3 separate regions of the Homo sapiens genome follow, and all the other regions are linked to region 2. The links are contacts of gene promoters, found by promoter capture Hi-C in blood cells and fetal thymus (Javierre and others, 2016). All regions are on one chromosome and are shown on one strand. The core of a region is centred on a gene start or on the middle of the fragment in contact, and the rest is flanking DNA. Distances in the headings are between cores, read along the strand shown. Region 1 holds the start of SLC25A28-DT (SLC25A28 divergent transcript). Region 2 holds the start of TCTN3 (tectonic family member 3). Region 3 holds the start of GOT1-DT (GOT1 divergent transcript).

Region 1 (3,037 bases), core at 311-2,810, 3.9 Mb after region 2:
TCCCTTTTTGCCAACTTCAGGTGGCCAAAGAAATATGCTATCAGTTTCATCTCTCTTGTTTGGAGGCTGATGTGCTCCCTGAACATACAGTCCTAATCCCAGCTCAATTTTCATGTTCAGGAAATAGGTGGGGTATCATGCTTGCTTCACAGAGAAACTGAAACCTATTCCTGAATACGATCTTTCCCACATTACTTCCAGTCTGGAATTCTGCATTCTCACTGCACAATGATTTCCAATCACTCATGTGTTAAGATTTAACATGTAAGTCCTTTATCTAGCTGAGAGATCCCAGATTCGGGTTCCTGCCCCGTCAGTAAGGGAAGATACAGCAAGGAGTTTGTAAAAGCACTAGCCCAGAAAACATCTCAAGCCGTTAGATCCATTTCAGGGTCTGGTTCACGCCAGTTGGCTTCACCTTAATCGAGTTAGTAGCACTTACCTGAGCTTCGGGATACCCCATCCCACCCTATTCCTGTTTAGTCCCAGGTGGGGTCCAGGGCTTTGGCTGACAGATTTTCGATCCTGAGTCCCGATTCAGATTTCACTGACGGTTAGAAATAGGTCCTGGTTCCTGACTGGGATCAACTCCCAGCTGGGACCTTGCTTGAATGGAGTGTCGGTTCGAATCATGTGGTAGTGGCAGGAGCCAGGAAGGAACCCATGTCGGCTCCGGCTCTCAGCCGGGATCCTGGCTCCGGACAAGACCCAGGGGTCGGGTCAGCCCCAGGTCGGGTTCGAAGCCGGGTGCAGGTCTCACCTTGACGCAGTCGATGGGGTACATCACGCAGTGCTCCAGGATCCCTGCCACGGCGCCTGCCACCATGTGCGTGGTGACAGTGGCTCCAGCCGGCAGCGCCTCGTAGTCCGGGCCGGAGTCCGGATCTTGTCGTACCGGGGGCCTGCAGGCCCCGGCCTCCCCGCCGCCGGCCCCCCGGCCCACGCCCCGCTGCAGCCACCCGTCCAGCAGCGCCGACTCCCCGGGGCTCCGCCCGGGCCCTGCCGCCGGCCCCCCCGCCACACCGCCAGCACCCCGCCCCTCCAACTCCATCCACCCGGGCCAGCTGCGGCGCCCACCCCCGCCGCCGCTGCCACCACTGCCGCCGCCGCCCCCCGGCCCCGTAGTGTCCGCCTCAGGCGCGGCCCAGAGAGCCCGGGGCCTCCGGCTCCCGCTTGGCCCCGCGGACACGCCCCCCAAGCAACCATTGGTGGAGACGCCAAGTTAGACCCACCCCTTTCCTTACGTACGAAAAATCAGCCGGTAGTATTAGCGAAGTCGCCTGTCATTCCTCCGCCCTGAGGCGTTGCTAGCGCCTACATCCCACCTTTTCCCCTTTGATCTTAGAAGCTTCTTGTTTATTGGTCACTGATTGGCCGACATGTGCGATCAACCCGCCTCTGACTTTTAGAAGGGCGGGAGAAACTTAAGGCTGAACTTTGATAGGCTCAACCACTCTTGATACTTTGACCGCGGCCATTGGCCCGCACCACGTCGGTCCCCGATTGGCTACAGAAAGAGCGACGCGCCCAGGGACTCTAGGGGCCGACTTCGGGCCCCTCACTAGCGCCTGCAGAGCTGCGGTCCCTGTGCGCGGGATCGCGTCGGGGGCGGGGCGGCGACAGGCCTTCAACGTCAAACTGCTGACGGGCGCCGTTACGACCCGCGCTCCCGTGCGCTCCTCAAATTCTGAGACGCGTGGCTGGAGAGCGGGCGGCCCTGGCCCCGGAGAGCCGTGTTCCCGCGGGATCTCGTCGCGGGCGTGAGGCGGGGCCGGCCTGGGCCGGTCATCCCTGGCTGGCGCGACCCGCAGCCTGTCCGGGAAGCCGTTGCGACATGCGGGCTGGGAACCGCCTCACCTCCAGGGGGGACCGCGGCGGCCCGCTAGACTCTGGTCGGGTCTGGAGTATTGGGCCCTCTGGCCGGACTCGGTGCTCCTCAGGCCCCAGCGCCCGGCACTGAGCCTCGCATCCACATTCGCAGAGTAAACCCAACAAGTGTTGAATGAATGAGGTTCCCCGGGCCCCGGCTGTCACTGGGCTCTGCGCCAGGCCAAGAGCCGAAGGCGGGGGAGGAAGATGTCGAAATGGGCGGGATGATTCACAGATGACGGCCGGTGGCGAGGCGGGGCTGGAGGCCGCATCCCAAAGGCAGCAGGGAAGTGCGGCGGCTGTGGGGAAGCTCGGACGCACGGCCTGGCCGAGTCTGAAGCATCAGTATTTTGTCCCTGAGCCGGCGCGCTGATGGGTCCCCCGCCTGGCGATGAGGGCTTCTCCCTCCCTCGGGTCAGCCCGGGTCCTGAGAGGCAAGGCCAGCGATTCCCGGCCTTAGGACCTCCTGCTCTAGGGAGCACGGGCGTCTTCTTCCATTTGCCTTCCCCGAGCGTGTTGGCACAAGCTGCCCGCGGTTTCCAGCTCTGTCTTCTCTGTTTTACCCAGATGATGCAACTGTGGACTTCTCCATCTGTTCATAGGTTTTCCTTGGATAGGAAAGATGTTTTCCTTTTTTCTTTCTAAAGTTTAGCTCTTCTCTGGGCTTCCTTTTTAAAAACTTTTTCTACTCTCTTCAGCAGTTGTTATTAACCTTTAGGTCGCGACCGTTTGGAAAATAATAAAACTACGAATTCTCTTCTCCTACTTCCACCTCCCATCCCCTGTGTGCACTCAAAATTTTGCATATCATTTCTGCGTTTCAGAGTCCCTGAAGGTGCCATGTGGACACCCTAGGGGTCCATTAACCTGGTTAACCTCTCCCTGGCCGGCGCAGTGGCTCATGCCTGTGACCCCAACACTGTGAAGGCCGAGGTGGGACGATTTATTGAGCTCAGGAGTTCGAGACCAGCCTGGACAACATGGCAAAACCCCGTCTCTACAAAATAATAAATACAAAAAAGTACAAAAATTCAAAAATTAGCTGGGTATGGTGGTGTGCACCTGTAGTCTCAGCTACTTGGGGGAGGATTGCTTGCGCCAGGGAGGTCGAAGCTGCAGTGAGCCGTGTTCATGCCACTACACTCCAGCCTGGGTGACAAAGCAAGAC
Region 2 (3,089 bases), core at 74-2,573:
AAGAAATGGAAAAAAGGCCAGAATAAAAGCCAATTCTCAATAAATGTTAGACCAAGCTTGTCCAACCTGCAACCCACCGGCCGCATGCAGCCCAGGACGGCTTATGAATGCAGCCCAACAACACAAATTTGTAAACTTTCTTAAAACATTTGACATTTTTTTTGCTTTTTTTTTGTTGTTGTTTTTAACTCATCAGCTATCGTTAGTGTATTTTACGTGTGGCCCAAGACAATTCTTCTTCCAATGTGGGCCAGGGAAGACAAAATATAACACTCCTGTGTTAGAAAATGAGAACAACCAACATGTTTCTACTCACAGTTGTTCACATGGACACAAAACTGCCTGATTCCATTAGAATCCATGAAAACTCTTGAAGGAAACGGGGAATTACTCCTGAAGATAACAGAGTTGTCTACACAAACCCAGCTTGAAGACCTGTGAGGAAAGAGGAGGGAGAAGATATATTTAGAAGGGGCGGGGCAGGTCCAAAAAAGAGTGTCCCAGCAATATCGGCCAGATGATGCCAAAGAGGACTCCTTGGGCACCTATAGGACGACACGAAGGTCTTATTCTACTGGCCAGCCCTGCTCTAGAGAATCAGAAAAGGCAATTCCTAGGAAAAACCAAGGGAATGTCCTAGGAGTGGAAGTACGGGTGGGAGGCACAAAGACTAACTCTTCTTACATCCAAATGTTACCCGTTGTAGGCCCCAAACCCCTTTAGGATTCAGTCTGAGCAACGAAGCTCACCTTACGCTGCCTGGAAGGCAGAAGGAGAAAACTGTCCTCGGATGGAGAAGATAGCAGTCCCTGTCGCAGCAGCAATTTATATCGCAGGCTCCAGGAGTCAAGTCACAGACACAGATCGGTAAGACTATGAAAGTACGACACAGAGTGAGTGGGATGAAGATCCCCAAACTCTCCCAGGTGCTCACCCTCCTTCTTCCGACAGCCCCACTCCTGCTTTGTGGCAGCTCAACTTTGCTCACAGAATTTTAGATCTCAGAAGTAAGTTTCCACCCCCACAACGTTTTCCCTCACCTGGGAAGAGGTCCACAGTCCTATTCCCAGGGGCCGAGGGAGTCACGAGAGTAGGGACCACTGTAGGGAGTCCAGGCACGGCCGGGCGAGTTGCAGTCGCCTCTGAAGGGGACTGGAGGGTTCCGCCATCCGTCCCTCGCTGCAGCTCCAAAGACGTGGGCACTGCCCCTGATGGGGAGGAAGAGGGCTGAGGCCGGACGCCATCGGGGAACACCAGAAAGAACACTTGCAGGAGCGCGAGCTGTGGGGTGCGCATGGGGCATTCAGGGCCTCCGGGTCCGACGTAGGCCTCCGCGGTCTCCAATCGCATTGCCAGAGCGTGGGTGGGAGGAGTCGCATAGCGTCTGACGCCATCCGCGTGCCTCTTCTCATTGGCTCATGAGAAGGCTGAGAGCTCTTCAACCAATCGAAAGTGGGGTTGTTACAGCTCTTTCAGTGTCCTTCGGTCTGCGCCCTCCTCCTTAACGCGGGCCGGGCCGTGCCTCCGTTGCCTGGCAACCGTCAGTGACGAAGAAGCCCTTGCGCCTTCCTTCCGCTAGGTGGCGGTAGGAGTTCGGCGGACCGAGAGGTTCCGCGCCCACTTCGCGGCCCAGAGGACTGAGCCCGGCCTCCGGTGCAAGGAAACCCCAGAGGCCGGAACTAGAATTGCAAATTTTTTTTCACCCCGGATTCCAACGGTGAGAAACCCTTTCTATGGAAGAATAATGTTCTCAGGTGGGGGAAACACACCTAAGGTCACATACCTTAAAAAACAGTCTCCTCTAAATATGGCTTTTTTAAAAAAAAAAAAAACACATTAGAAATAATGTTCATTCAGCTCCTTACATTTTAACATTGAGAAATTTTGAAAACCCTAAAGAAATGCATCAAATCATTAAAGATGGACTGCATGTTTGTTGTTAGAAAAAGCAGTGAGAGAAAAATAAGAAAAAAGGGCAGGAAAAATGTGAGAAAATAGGGAGAGAAAGAATAAAAAAAAGAAACATTGTCTAGGAGGTGAGAAAATAAGATGGAGGAATGGAAATAGAAGATTTTTTTCCCCGTGTTAATGGCAAATTTTTTAAGCCTCTCTAGGAGGTTTTTGTTCTTCCCGGGAATGGCGTGCCTCTTCCGATTCCCCACAGCAGCGCGGGCCATGGGACTTTCCTTCGGTATTGGAAATGTACCGTAGCTGCACTGTCCAGCATGGTAGTCACCGGCCTTATGTGGCAATTGTGCGCTTGAAATGTGGCTAGCGTGACTGAGGAGCTGATTTTTTTTTTTTTTTTTTTTTTTGAGACGGTGTTTCGCTCTGTCGCTCAGGCTGGAGTGCAGTGGTGTGATCTCAGCTCACTGCAACCTCTGCCTCTAGGATTCAGGTGATTCTTCTGTTTCAGCCTCCTGAGTAGCTGGGATGACAGGCACGCGCCACCACGCCCGGCTAATTTTATTTTTATTTTTAGTAGAGATGGGGTTTCACCATGTTGTCCAGGCTGGTCTCGAATTCCTGACCTCAAGTGACCCTCCCGCCTTGGCCTCCTAAAGTGCTGGGATTACAGCTGTGAGTCGCTGTGCCTGGCCTGAATTTTTAATTTTTAAATTGTAATTAATTCAAAGTTAACCACAGACGTGAGTAGCTACCATATTGTACAGTGGGACTGTAGATGATCAAAATATTGCTCCTCCTAGACCCAGTATTTTCCTATGTCCACGGTTCTGACATCTGGATTATTTTGGATATTTAGTTTTAGTATATAAATTAACATCTGTTAAGAGTTATCTAAAATCTAGTACACTTACCTAAAATCTGGTCAACACCTCCCTTTACAAGTGAATCATTTAACTCAGGTAAGTTTTAGGACATTTGACTTTACTTGAATTCTCTTACAAGATCTTTATTTTCTAATGTTTTGAAGTCAGTAGCTAAAAGTCTCTCTGTGTTATAAATATTTTCAAATATGTTTTTATGTTGTTGTGTGATAGACAGCTATGGGAGATATGTGTTTGGTCTTAAAACATTTATTTACCTTATTAGTAATTTCTATAGGAAAAGGCCAAGTTCATATTATT
Region 3 (2,770 bases), core at 31-2,530, 3.7 Mb after region 2:
AAAATTTGAGAGGCACTCCAATATAAATCTTCTTGGCAGATGGGGAAACTGAGGCCCATGCTCTGAGCTGTCCAAGGTACAGAAGAGAATCACTTGAATCAAGAAATGAAGATAGGATGTGTGGAAAGTAAGCTTCTACCATCCATACTTCTCTCCACTCCTTTCCACCATCTCTACCCATTCCTACCACATCTGTGACGGCCAGAACCATCTCCCCAGACCCCCCGGGGGCAGCATTAACCTGTCTCAAAGCATTGTGTAACACCAGCAGATTTTTAAATCCTTAAGGGCAAAATCAAGCCTCAGTCTCCCCCTACAAAGCTTAATAAGGTGGCTGATTGATACTCGGTGGTCACTCAAATATTTACCGACTCAGAACAGAGCTTTCTAGCGTTAAAAGTTCTCCTTTACCCATTTCCTAGCAACCAGAACCCTAAGCCTATCAGGCTTCCTATTTTTCTACCTCTCTCTACAAGCTCCGGCAGCCTCATTTCTTAGGAGGATGCAGTATAAAGAAGGCAGAATGGGGAATCGGAAAGACTGAGTTTGTGTCTTGGCTGCTACACCTGGTTTGTGCGGCCTCGGACACATCGCCCCTTTCCAGGGACTCCACACCTGCATCTGTAAAATGGGCAGGTTTTAGGAAGCCTTCGTGGATCCAGCCTCCTCTCCGGCGCCGCCCTCTTCAGGCAGCGCCACACTGGGCCTCGGCTTCTCCCACAGTCTCCACGACCTGGGTTGGGTCCGCTCCACTCCCCGAGCTGCTCACACTCCAGAGCACTACATCCTTACCTCCCACTCCCAGGTTGACCTTGCGGGGGTCCGGATCCTCCCTGAAGTCGGCAGTGAGCTTGAAGACCAGGACAGGCTGGGCCTGCGGAACCTCGGCAAAGACTGACGGAGGTGCCATATCGAGAGACTAGGAATCAAGAGATTTCACCCCACGCCCGGAGCTGGCAGGTCAGGTCTGGCCGTTGCGACTGGAGGAGACACTCACCTTCACCTAGCCGGCGGGGGCGGGCCCGCGGCCTCCAATGGTCGAGCCGCGTCCAAAGCTTGGCAACGCGATTAACCAATCGCCAGCTTCTGACGACGAAGGCACAGGGGAGAAGGAACGCTATTAGCCAATCCAAGAAAACAATTTATCGGCTGCCGAGAATGATGCAACCAATGCAATTTCCTCCGGCTGAGGCGTGGGCGAAGACTACGGTTGATTGGTAGAGCGTGCTCCTATCGCAGAGGCTGTTATTCCTTGGGTCTCCCGGCTGAGGGGAGGAGCCGAGCGAGCGGCGGGTGTCCCTGAGAGGCCACCTTTCGACCTTCGAGGGCCAGGAGGATACGGGGAGGTGGCCGGAGGGAGTTCCCGAACACAGGTCTTCCTGTTCCCGCCGAGCAGGTGTTGGCGGTGCCAGGCCCGGCCTGGCGGGCCCGGGCTGGCAGCCAAATACCCAGCGTCTGTGCTCGGGACGGGAGTGTTCGTCCAGGACGTGCAGCTCCGGAGCCTGCGCGGGCGACCTTGACCACCTTTGTCGGCTGTTTCCCCCTGAGGGAAGTATACCTGTCCTGCCAGCCTTGGTCTCTGGCAGGGAAGGTCCTTCCAACAGAGAGGGGTGCGCACGAATTCCTTTTTGCCGCTCTTCTATTAATAGTTTGAGATTTTCCTCCCCGATTCCTTGCAGAGAGGGCCTGGTCCTCAAGGACCTCGGGATCTGGGCGCGACGTCCCTTCCCAGCTTCCTCCCGCGCGCACCGGACCAGATCTTGCTGTCGTCAGCTGGCTGGTACCCAAAGTTCCTCTTCGTCAGGCTGTTCCTTCCCCGTTAGAGTCCTTCCTCCCCAGGAGCCCTCTCCATCTGCTGACCTTCAAGACCCAGAGCGAATGCCACTTCATCCATGAAGCCTTCCCTTAACCCTTATCTGGCCAAAATGTCTCTTTCCTGTGCTTCTGTACTTTCACAATTTTAGAAAATGCCTTTGTGGTTAAAAACCTATCTCCGGGACCGGACTATCTAGGTTTAGATTCTGGCTGCCGCTTACGAATTTGGGCAGGTTTAGTCAAGTTATTTTAACCTCTCTGTGGAAGTTCCTGCTCTGTGGAAATAATAGTATTTTCCTCAGAGTTGGTGTGGGGAGTTTGTGAGTTAATACATTTACGAAGTGGTTAGTTGCATGTAAGAAGGACTCTCTAAATGTCAGCTATTATTAACATTGCATATCTGCCACACCCTTCATAGATGGTAAACTGCTTTTTTTTTTTTTTTTACTTTTATTTTAGGTTCGGGATACATGCACAGGTTTGTTTTATAGATAAATTGCTTGTCATGTGGGTTTGTTGTACAAATTATTTTGTCACCCAGATAGTAAGCATAGTACTTGACAGGTATTTTTTCTGATCCTCTCCCTCCTCCCACCCTCTAGCCTCAAGTAGGTCCCAGTGTCTGTTGTTCTCTTCTTTGTGTCCATGTGTTCTCAATGTTTAGCTCCCACTTACAAGTCAGAACATGCAGTATTTGGTTTTCTCTTCCGCATTAGTTCACTTAGGATAAAGGCCTCCAGCTCCATCCATGTTGCTACAAAGGACATGATCTCTTTCTTTTTTATGGCTGCATAGTAGTCCATGGTGTATATGTACCGTATTTTCTTCAGTCTACTGGTGATGGGCATTTAGGTTGATGCCATGTCTTTACGATTGTGAATAGTGCTGCAGTGAACATACATGTACATATATCTTTATGGTAGAATGATTTATATTCTTTTGGGTATAGACCCAA

Evidence for each region. Contacts are between HindIII fragments. The CHiCAGO score rates a contact against its expected background, and 5 or more counts as called.
Region 1: a contact is called between the fragment with the promoter of SLC25A28-DT here and the fragment with the promoter of TCTN3 in region 2, in 1 of 17 cell types (total CD4 T cells). The highest score is 5.9, in total CD4 T cells.
Region 3: the fragment with the promoter of GOT1-DT here is called in contact with the fragment with the promoter of TCTN3 in region 2 in 1 of 17 cell types (total CD8 T cells); the score reaches 7.2 in total CD8 T cells.

The regions. Positions count from the first base shown.
Region 1 is chr10:99,619,285-99,622,321 of GRCh38, forward strand. SLC25A28-DT (SLC25A28 divergent transcript) reads left to right here and starts at 1,561. Exons shown (of 1, transcript NR_186534.1): 1 at 1,561-2,634. SLC25A28 (solute carrier family 25 member 28) reads right to left here and starts at 1,155. Exons shown (of 4, transcript NM_031212.4): 1 at 761-1,155. The coding sequence starts at 1,051. RefSeq lists enhancers at 381-963, 1,547-2,129, 2,130-2,711 and silencers at 846-1,005, 1,736-1,895. The HindIII fragment of the contact is 4,603 bases long and covers 1,347-3,037 here.
Region 2 is chr10:95,692,604-95,695,692 of GRCh38, forward strand. It overlaps TCTN3 (tectonic family member 3), which reads right to left and starts at 1,324. Exons shown (of 14, transcript NM_015631.6): 1 at 1,041-1,324; 2 at 750-873; 3 at 317-435. The coding sequence starts at 1,296. It also overlaps a transcript of ENTPD1 not described here. RefSeq lists enhancers at 1,029-1,308, 1,783-2,284. The HindIII fragment of the contact is 4,584 bases long and covers 55-3,089 here.
Region 3 is chr10:99,429,656-99,432,425 of GRCh38, forward strand. It overlaps GOT1-DT (GOT1 divergent transcript), which reads left to right and starts at 1,281. Exons shown (of 5, transcript NR_183993.1): 1 at 1,281-1,610. It overlaps GOT1 (glutamic-oxaloacetic transaminase 1), which reads right to left and starts at 969. Exons shown (of 9, transcript NM_002079.3): 1 at 793-969. The coding sequence starts at 910. RefSeq lists enhancers at 810-869, 890-939, 1,120-1,549. The HindIII fragment of the contact is 5,235 bases long and covers 1,054-2,770 here.